2 separate regions of the Homo sapiens genome follow, and region 2 is linked to region 1. The links are contacts of gene promoters, found by promoter capture Hi-C in blood cells and fetal thymus (Javierre and others, 2016). All regions are on one chromosome and are shown on one strand. The core of a region is centred on a gene start or on the middle of the fragment in contact, and the rest is flanking DNA. Distances in the headings are between cores, read along the strand shown.

What was found. Contacts are between HindIII fragments. The CHiCAGO score rates a contact against its expected background, and 5 or more counts as called.
Region 2: the fragment with the promoter of RNF20 here is called in contact with the fragment with the promoter of UBQLN1 in region 1 in 2 of 17 cell types (total CD4 T cells and total B cells); the score reaches 6.6 in total CD4 T cells.

The regions. Positions count from the first base shown.
Region 1 is chr9:83,706,544-83,711,423 of GRCh38, reverse strand. It overlaps UBQLN1 (ubiquilin 1), which reads left to right and starts at 3,466. Exons shown (of 11, transcript NM_013438.5): 1 at 3,466-3,924. The coding sequence starts at 3,745. UBQLN1-AS1 (UBQLN1 antisense RNA 1) reads right to left here and starts at 3,589. Exons shown (of 2, transcript NR_135839.1): 1 at 3,112-3,589. RefSeq lists enhancers at 2,664-3,552, 3,716-3,785, 3,553-4,443. The HindIII fragment of the contact is 7,028 bases long and covers 635-4,880 here.
Region 2 is chr9:101,532,137-101,536,624 of GRCh38, reverse strand. RNF20 (ring finger protein 20) reads right to left here and starts at 2,772. Exons shown (of 20, transcript NM_019592.7): 1 at 2,711-2,772; 2 at 1,073-1,227. The coding sequence starts at 1,201. It also overlaps a transcript of PGAP4 not described here. RefSeq lists an enhancer at 2,901-3,030. The HindIII fragment of the contact is 1,893 bases long and covers 1,001-2,893 here.

The DNA.
Region 1 (4,880 bases), core at 2,217-4,716:
GGTGTAAACTAGACTGGTAGCAGGAGAAAGTTTCAGATAATAGAAGCTGTGCTACAAGTGATGAATGGTCAAGTGAAATGTGCAGGTAATTATGACGGAAGGTCAGATTCTGTAAGCTTGGGTATTCAAGGAGTTTCAGAAAGCAGGTAGCAATAATGGGTACAAGGAGGTGGGTGTAATGACTTGAAGGAATGATCAGAAGTTAAGAAAAGTATAATGTATAAGTGCTTCTAGGGATGATAATAAAGGTATTTGACTGGAATGGAGCATATATATTGAGAGCAACAGGAGTCAACACTAGGAGTTACCTGTGGAAGGCCTAGTTAGGAAGCTCTGGGCTGGGCGCAGTGGCTCACACCTGTAATCCCAGCACTTTGGGAGGCTGAGGTGGGTGGATCACCTGAGGTCAGGAGTTTGAGACCAGCCTGGCCAACATGGTCAAACTCTGTTTCTACTAAAAATACAAAAATTAGCTGGGCGTGGTGGTGCATGCCTGTAATCCCAGCTACTCAGGAGGCTGAGGCAGGAGAATCGCTTGAACCCAGGAGGCGGAGGTTGCAGTAGGCCGAGATCATGCCATTACCCTCCAGCCTGGGCGACAGAAAAAAACTGTCTCCAAAAAAAATAAAAAGCTTTGGCTTTATTTTCTAGGCAGTGGGAAACTTATGATAGATTTTTCAGTAGCCTAGTAACATGATGAAGTCATGTTATTTATAGCACTTACATGACATATGTACTACCTCGTATTAAAGGTATGTTCCTGGACACAAGATTAGAGGATTAAAGTTTGTCAGAGGATACTCAATGAATTCTTATTGAGTTGACTGAATCATTTTGTCAAAAAAGAATTATTCTATCGTGAATAATAACCTTCTATCAATATACTTGAACTCTGAATAATGGATTTTCTCAAAATGGGACTTCTTCAGTTGGAGCTGGCTCATACTGGCTTGTGAGGGCTTACTGGTAAAATTTCACGTGTTTTGTGAGGCAGAGGATCTCAAGTTGGTAACCATTTGCAAGTATTTACATCAAGGAAATTGGCAAATGTAATAAAGTTTATTTTCAGGAGGACTGGTTATTAGTCATTTACCAGGACATCACTGCCAGTCTCCCTCCTATCCCTCACCCCCATCATCCAACTATCACTTCAAGTTTTTTGACGGCAGAAACTGAGTCTTATTATTCTTGTATGCTCAATATAGTATTATACAGTATTAGGATACTGTGATAAAATATGTTCTTAAAATTTTCTCCAGACAGACCATTTAACAAACAAAAACCATTCAGAAGAAAATGCCACAAATAAACATCTAGACCTGGGGTTGGCAAACTATCTTCTGTAGGCCAAATCAGATCCTATGTCTGTTTTTGTTTTGCAAGTAGAGTTTTTAGTAAACATAGCTATGATTATTCATGTATGTATTGTCTATGATTACTCTGTGATACAAGGGCATAGCTTAGTGTTTTAGACCGAGATCCTGTGGCTCACAAAGCCTAAAATATTAGGTTGATGCATAAATAATTGCGGTTTTTGCAAATTTTTTTTTTTGGCACCAACCAAATATTTACTATCTAGCCCTCCCAGAAAGTTCACTAATCTCTGATTTACACCATAGTGCCCCCACCTCCGATTCTCATGCAGGTCAGGATTATATCTAAAAAGTGCCATAACAATGGATAACTATATGGTATCTTCTTACAGGTAAATCTTATTACCTTATAGTGTCACACACATCAAACATTTTTAGACAATAATGTAGACACAGATAATTGCAAAGTCCATAAATGCAGGGAGACAGACACACACACACACACACACACACACACACACACGGTATTTGTTGGAGAATCAAGGGAAAAACCATATCTCTAAATGGTAGGGAGTGAAGTCTTCCTGGGGCATGTGATACAGGATGAGTAGAAGTTAGACAGGTGAAGGCAAGGGGAAAGTCATTCTAGGTAGAGGAAGGCAGCCTAGGCAAAGCATGCAGGTAAGACACAGCATGACAGGGAAAAACAGGTAATGAGGAGCTAATGAAGTTGAGGAGAAATTTTATTTAGACATATGGAAGAAATTCCAAATGATTGGTTGTCCAGTTGTGGCACTTTCTAGCTTTAGAAGCAGTGATCATCTCACACCTGGACATAACCAAGTAGTCATCCTTCATTAAGCAGAAGGCCTTGTTATTGAGCCATGCTGCCAGAAATTTAGGTGATATCAAATGATGTCTATACTGAAATCGATACCCTCAGGATTCTCTTAGACCCAGATTCCATAGAGCTCTGCTAAAAAGTCGTGTTTATGTAACAGTATTTATTCTCAGAACAGGGTTGGACGGCTTAGGAGCAGAAAGGCAGAATGTATCTTTGCGGATTTGGGTCATAGTGGGCTGTCAGGATTTAAATTGTGCAACATTGATTAATAATGGGCTGGTTTGTACATTCCTTGCAAGTCATCTTTAAAAGCCAATGACGTCATTTCAAATTAGGATTCTCAGAGATAATTTCTCTCTGTATTACACTGAAAATAATTTTGGAACTATCCTTAATGCCACTTAAAGCCTGAAATTGACCAGTAACTTAATTTGATAGAATATAAGGCGAACACCTCAACTATATTAAATTGTCCCATTTGGGTGGACACTCCTCGGGCACCCTGTTCCGCCCTACACACAGATAATCTGGGGGCGCTCGCGCACAGCTGTCATCGTAGCAGCAGAGGCCACTGTCAATACAGGTTGCCTGACTGATCGTCTGACCAAACCGGGCTAACCCGAGGGCGGTAAATAAGCTCTGGCCATGAAGCAATGACTCCGCAGGATTGCGCAGGGCAGTCACGGGCGTTCACTCCATTTTCTGTTCGTTGTGCTGAGGCCTTTCCACCATTAACTTACCCCAACTCCCCCGCATAGGGCAATACGACCCCTCCAAATATCAAACGCTAAGCATATTAAAATAACAAAATACCTCGCCGCTATTTTATCACCAGACCCTCCTCCCAGCGGGGAACGCAGAGTAGACAGAGAGGCAAGGGAGGGCAAGGCGATTGTGACAGCGCGGAGGGGTGAACACGGCCCAGCTGGGCATGAGGTAAGGTGGGGAGACTACCTGGACAGCAAGCGCGCAGGCGCAGCCGCGGCCGCAGGGCCCACTGGTCCCTTTCTAGTAATTTCGCTAACCGTGACGTCATCTCGGTGCGCCGTTACAGCGCTTAACTGGAAACTGCGATTTAGTTTTTGGTGAAAGGAGTGGAAAAAAACCATGAACTGACCTACCCCGCCCCATTTTGCTTTTAGTCCTTCACACTGGCTTCGCCTGCACTTTGGGCAATGGAGCGGGAAAGGAAAAGGCACGCAGGCTGAGCTCAAAGTCGCGCCAGCCGGGGATGACTCGGCGACGCCGCCAGGCGCGTTACCCGGCGTGCTCCGCGCGGCGCCGGCGAAGGGACGTGGGGGAAGGGGCAGGGAGGAGGAAGCGGTGGCTGCTGCGGATGTCGGTGTGAGCGAGCGGCGCCTGAACACACGGCGGCTGCCGAGCGCCTGACCCGGGCCTGCGCCAGAGCCTGCACCGAGCTCCGGGGCCCCACACCCGCTACGGTGGCCCTGCGCCCGTTGCTACTGAGGCGGCGTGCTCTGCATTCTTCGCTGTCCAGGCCTGCCGGCTCTGGTGTCTGCTGGCTCCTCCTTGCTCGCCTGCTCCCTCCTGCTTGCCTGAGTCACCGCCGCCGCCGCCGCCACAGCCATGGCCGAGAGTGGTGAAAGCGGCGGTCCTCCGGGCTCCCAGGATAGCGCCGCCGGAGCCGAAGGTGCTGGCGCCCCCGCGGCCGCTGCCTCCGCGGAGCCCAAAATCATGAAAGTCACCGTGAAGACCCCGAAGGAAAAGGAGGAATTCGCCGTGCCCGAGAATAGCTCCGTCCAGCAGGTGAGGCCGCCTGGGGCTCGGGCCGGGATGGGGGTGGCGGCAGGACCTCCGCCCGCCGCCCCAGGAGACCTTTTGGAAGGGCCTGGGAGAGGGGTCGTCCTCGGCCATTCTCCCGGGCGTCGTCCCAAATTAGATCACACCCAAGTTCGTGGGTTTGCGCCTTGGGACACCGCAATGGTTTGTGGCGTGGCGGCGCGGCCTGTTTGTGGGACGGGCTGATGCCGCTTTTCTCGGAGCCTTCCTTCTCTGGTATCCGCCGACCCTCAGCCTCCTCCCCCAGTTCCCCGCCCTCCGTCGCCTCCCCTCCAACTCCTCACAAAGGAAAGGGACCCACCGCCAGCCTCCGGGCGGGGTGGAGGCTGGGCGGGGGCGAGGGTTCGCTTTAGCTCAGGCTGCGGTTTTGTTTCATGAATTAAAAAGGGGTGGGTGGGATCCTCGTTGTTTTACGTGCCTGCTTGTTAAGGTGGGTTTTGGGGTGAGGTGCATGTGTATATTTAGTTCTGCATTTTAACTCCTGAAATCTTTCCCACCTTGCAACCTTTAAAAAAAAATTATGACGTAGAAACTGTTTTTAGCTCCATCTTAAGTAATAGTGATAGTACTAGGTTTAAGGAGAAAAGTGAATGACTTTCTTTCACTGATGACTTGCTCTTTCCCTTTTAGTATGTTTATCATCTCTTAGATGCCAATCATTGGGTAGGTTTTTGTTTGATTTTAGAGGGGCGATAGCGATGTTGATATTAGCGGTTGCAATCAAATAAAAGAAAATCGGAGTGAATGCAGAATATTACTTAAACTTGGTTCAGGAATACAAATCTTGCAGTTAATTAAGATTCTTGGTGGAATTTAACAAATAATTTTAGTGTATTGTTGAATACGTCGTGTTTTCCATAATTACTGACTTAATCTCTGAAGATCGCAAACAACGTGAACAGTTGGTGACAGGAAACAACAAT
Region 2 (4,488 bases), core at 1,523-4,022, about 18 Mb before region 1:
ACAAATACTCAACAAATATTTATATATTGAGTGAATAAATGCCTTTGGAATGCATGATGCAAGGCAGTGCTAAAACAAAAATCACTTCCTGCCAGCAATATTAAGTACCAGAACCTCAGGCAGCCTCAGAAATGACACTTCATCAACAACTCACTATGAATGTTCCTATTATTCTGACTCAAAAAAAAAAATCAGCCTCTCTAAAATAAACCTCAGCCTCAAAATCAAATAAGCAATAGATGTGGTTTTGCAAGCCATACAAATGTAAAGCATTTTACAAAATGTAAAACATTTTAATATCACATCCCCATGTCTGATTTTCAAAAAAGCAAAATCTTGACGTAGATCAAAACCTGTAAACTTCTGATGTCTAACAGATATATAACATTACTATGAGATTTTGGTATATAATACTCATTTTGTCAGCTCCATAAGAGCAAGGATAATATCTATGTTATGCACCATTATATTATCTAGCCCAATATTAGCTATGAATGCCTCCCATTTATTGACTATTTACTATATTAAATGCAAAGTGTTAGCCCTTAACAGGGACTCTTATTTTATATGCATAAAAATCTAATGTAGCAGGTACTCTAATTACATTTTACAGACAAGAAAACAGGCAAAGGAAGGATAACACAAGGTCAGCCAGCTAGGAAGTGGTACAGCTCAGAGTCAACTCCAGGCAATCTGGTCTCAGACTCTCACTCTTCACCATACTCTCAATGATTGCTAAACTGTCTCTTAGAATCTGGTACTGACTTTTTCAGTGAATGAAAAATAAATGTGTATCTTCCCACTGCTAAATACCTATAGTTAATGTTGTATCAGGCACCACCTTCCCAGATTCTCGAAAGAATATAAGTACACCTTGAAAACAAAGAACAACTATCAATCTACCTCTCCTCTAGAACTGACTACCACATCATTTTACCTACTTTCAGCCTGTTTTATTTCCCTCTTCTTTTCAAATAGCTTCCCCATACTCCAGAAAGCTTCCATGAATTTTTAGTTTCAAGTTGCAACTGACAGAAGACAAGCACACTTTCATGGCACTGTTTCCTCATACCGTTGAAGAGACACCTCCTAGCTTAATTGTTTCCACTGTGGTCCCTGAATCTTCAACAGCTGCCTTCTTCTCAGGAGGCATGGAGGTGCCAGGTTCTCCAGCTGCTCTTTTATTTCCAATTCCTGACATTTTGGCAGAAGAAGACAGTCGTTTTCCTGATAGAAAAAAAGGCAGAAACTGACATAATATATGTAAGCAAAGCAACAATAGAGTAAAACAATAGAGTAAAAACTAGCAACTTTTCTGGCCAACCCTTTAACCTGGATCCATTAATTCCACAACCATCTCCATATTTCTCTTTGAGGAAAAAAAAAAAAAATTAAATTGTAGAGTAAAAGTCAAGGCGGGCCGGGCGCGGTGGCTCATGTCTGTAATCCCAGCACTTTGGGAGGCCGAGGCGGGCGGATCAAGAGGTCAGAAGATCGAGACCATCCTGCCTAACACGGTGAAACCCCGTCTCTACTAAAAATACAAAAAATTAGCCAGGCGTGGTGGCGGGCGCCGGTAGTCCCAGCTACTCGGGAGGCTAAGGCAGGAGAATCACTTGAACCCGGGAGGCGGAGCTTGCAGTGAGCCGAGATCGCACCACAGCACTCCAGCCTGGGCAACAGAGCGGGACTCCGTCTCAAAAAAAAAAAAAAAAGAAAGTCAAGGCTAAATTTACATGACTATAAATTTCTAAATAGGATGGTGATAAGAATGGTGATAAGAAATGAGACAATGGGCAAAGGGTGAAGAGACCAAAAATAAAGTTCTGGAATCTCTCTTCCTGTAATGCCAAAATCAGAAAAGGGCAGTTTGATTATGCCAGAAGTTAATACTACAGTGTTGAAAGAATCACAGAGCTGAAAGAGATCTGTGAAATGCCTACTAAAGTCATTAGTACTAGACAAGTCAGTTATCATCTCTAAGCCTCAGTTTCCTAACCCAGGAATAAATAACCACAGTATATACTTCCTATGCTTATTATAAAATAAAATGGATGATATAATTATAGAAAGAATTTGGCACAAAGCCGAACACAAAGTAAGCACTCAGAAACCCCAGCTCTTCTTTAACGTTTGCAGTGTTTTCCCTATTTCCAAACGCTCTCTCCACTGTTTTATGCAACCCTACGTTAGTTAGACCTGGGTGCGAATTTCAGTTCTGCCTGTTAGAGGCCGTGTTGCTTTGAAACAGTGAATTCGCCAAGAGCTTCAGTTTCCTCAACTGCACAATATTAACGAATATATTTTTCGTCTGCCCTGCCTACCTCCCAGGGTGCTCAAAGGAGGCGGAATGGATGCTAAAGCACTTTGGCTACTTCAGGAAACAACGCAGCCATCACCGAGACTAACAAGACTACTCTGCTTCCAATTCAAGCTCCAGGAGAGGACTATCGCTGGCAACAACCTCAGTAGGACCTCGCCTGGAGAGAGAAGACACAGAAGCAGAACAAGGCTGCAATCCAACTCGCTAAAAGCCAAAGACCTCAGCCTCAGCGTGGATAATTGCAGGCCCAGGAGACTGACGGCCCCAAAACTGGAGAGGGTGGAGACTCCTGAGGCCTGGCACAGTCCTGTTGGGCCCTAAGCGTGATCTAACCTAAGTTCTTTGAACTGGCGCCGCGCGGGAACAGAACTCGCAGCAGTTACTCACCAAGGCCCGTGCAGAGATTCCAGCTCTCACCCCTGACCCGCGGCGGAGACAAGGCAGAACTTCCGGGAGGCGGGGCCACGGAGAGGAAAAAGGGAAAGAAAAAAGGAAGTGGCTTCAACCCAGCCCATAGGACTATGAGACCCCGCCGGGCGGAAGTGACGTACGGAGAGGGCACGAGAAGCTTGAGCAAGCGCCGCCTCCCTAGCAACGCTGGGCAAGCGCGGGACCCTCTCCTGGCTACGACCTCTAAGAGTACTCGGGCCTCGCTGATGCCTGACGGAGAGCCCTTGGCTTTTGTTGACTTGTTGACCTTTGCTACTGCGATCTGGTCTTTCTGCGGGGATAAAGTTCCTCATTCTGTTGCTTGTCATTGGGGTTGCCATCACTCGTTCAGACGGCCGATTGGCTGACGGTCCCGTCAATCTCCGGGGACATGACTAGCCTCAGACACCTCAGAAAATTGTTCGTTGGTACCCCTACGTGCTGAAATGAAGAGTTCTGGAGAGAATCTGAGGGATTTGAGGAATTTCAGATGTTGGGGATTTTTTCCCCCGCACAGGGAGCGGTATTCTGCCCTGTCTACACATTAGAATCACTTGGCCTGGACAAAAGCTTTTTTAAAAAAGCGTTCCCCTCATCTCCTCCCCCCAAACCCCGCATTTCCATCCACTAGATTCTAATGCGTAAGCAGGAGTGACAACTACTGCCCTTGTGCTTTTTTGGGAACAAGAAATTGTCCAGGGAAAAGATAAACGCCAATCAGTCTCTGATCTCAGTACTAGTCTATTTTAAGCTAATTAAGCATTGATTTTTTTTTTTAAGTTTATGACAAACTGCTATTTTCCATTCAGTTAAACTAAATGCGTTTTAATGATAGGACGGTAATTAATCTAACCTATTAATGAAAAGCTGTATGTCTCGCAGAACTATGATAAACTACCTAATGACGTCAGCTAAGGGTCTAGAAATGGAAGAATGATCGCTATATCTTTTTTAAAAAATAGAATTTAGGCATCTTGGGAAAAAAAGAAGCTAATCTACACTGGATTTCTGTTAGTGTGAAGACTTTTGTCCCTGTACCTGCTAGGGCTTACCTGTAAATGAAGTAAGATGGTCAACACCAGGGAAACAAGTGTTCCTGGTGCCTGGCAGTGGAACACCTTGACTATCTTGGAAAGAATTAACTGGCCCCAAGTGGACTTCACATTTCATTCCGTGAAGTGGGAGCCTGAGAACATGTGAGTGGGGACACACCTGCCGAAAAGCATTGTATGAGACAATGACACTCATTCTCTCATCTTCTTTGGTTCCTCTACTCTTAGCAAGCCTTTCATTCATAGAACTACTGAATGGCAAGTAATGGTTTTTCTAGCCCAGAAAACTAGAGGTTCACAGACTGCATTTAGCCAACAGTTATGCTTTGTTTATTTTAGACAGTATTGGCTGTCCTGCGTGGTTAAAAACAAGAACAAAAATGAACTTAGTTGCCAACATTTAAAATATGGCTATTTTACATAAAAATCCAAATTATCAGTTTCTCTAAAAAATGTTGATGATCTTGCAACAGAAGGGTTATATTTTTGCATGGTCACATTGCTTAGAGCAAAGTAGTGGCTTCTTCTTTTTTTTTTTTTTTCTTTTTTTCGAGACAGAGTCTTACTCTGTCACCCAGGCTGGAGTGCAGTGGCACAATCTCGGCTCACTGCAAACTCCACCTCACAGGTTCAAGCAATTCCCATGCCTCAGCCTCCCAAGTGGGTGGGATCACAGGCACACGC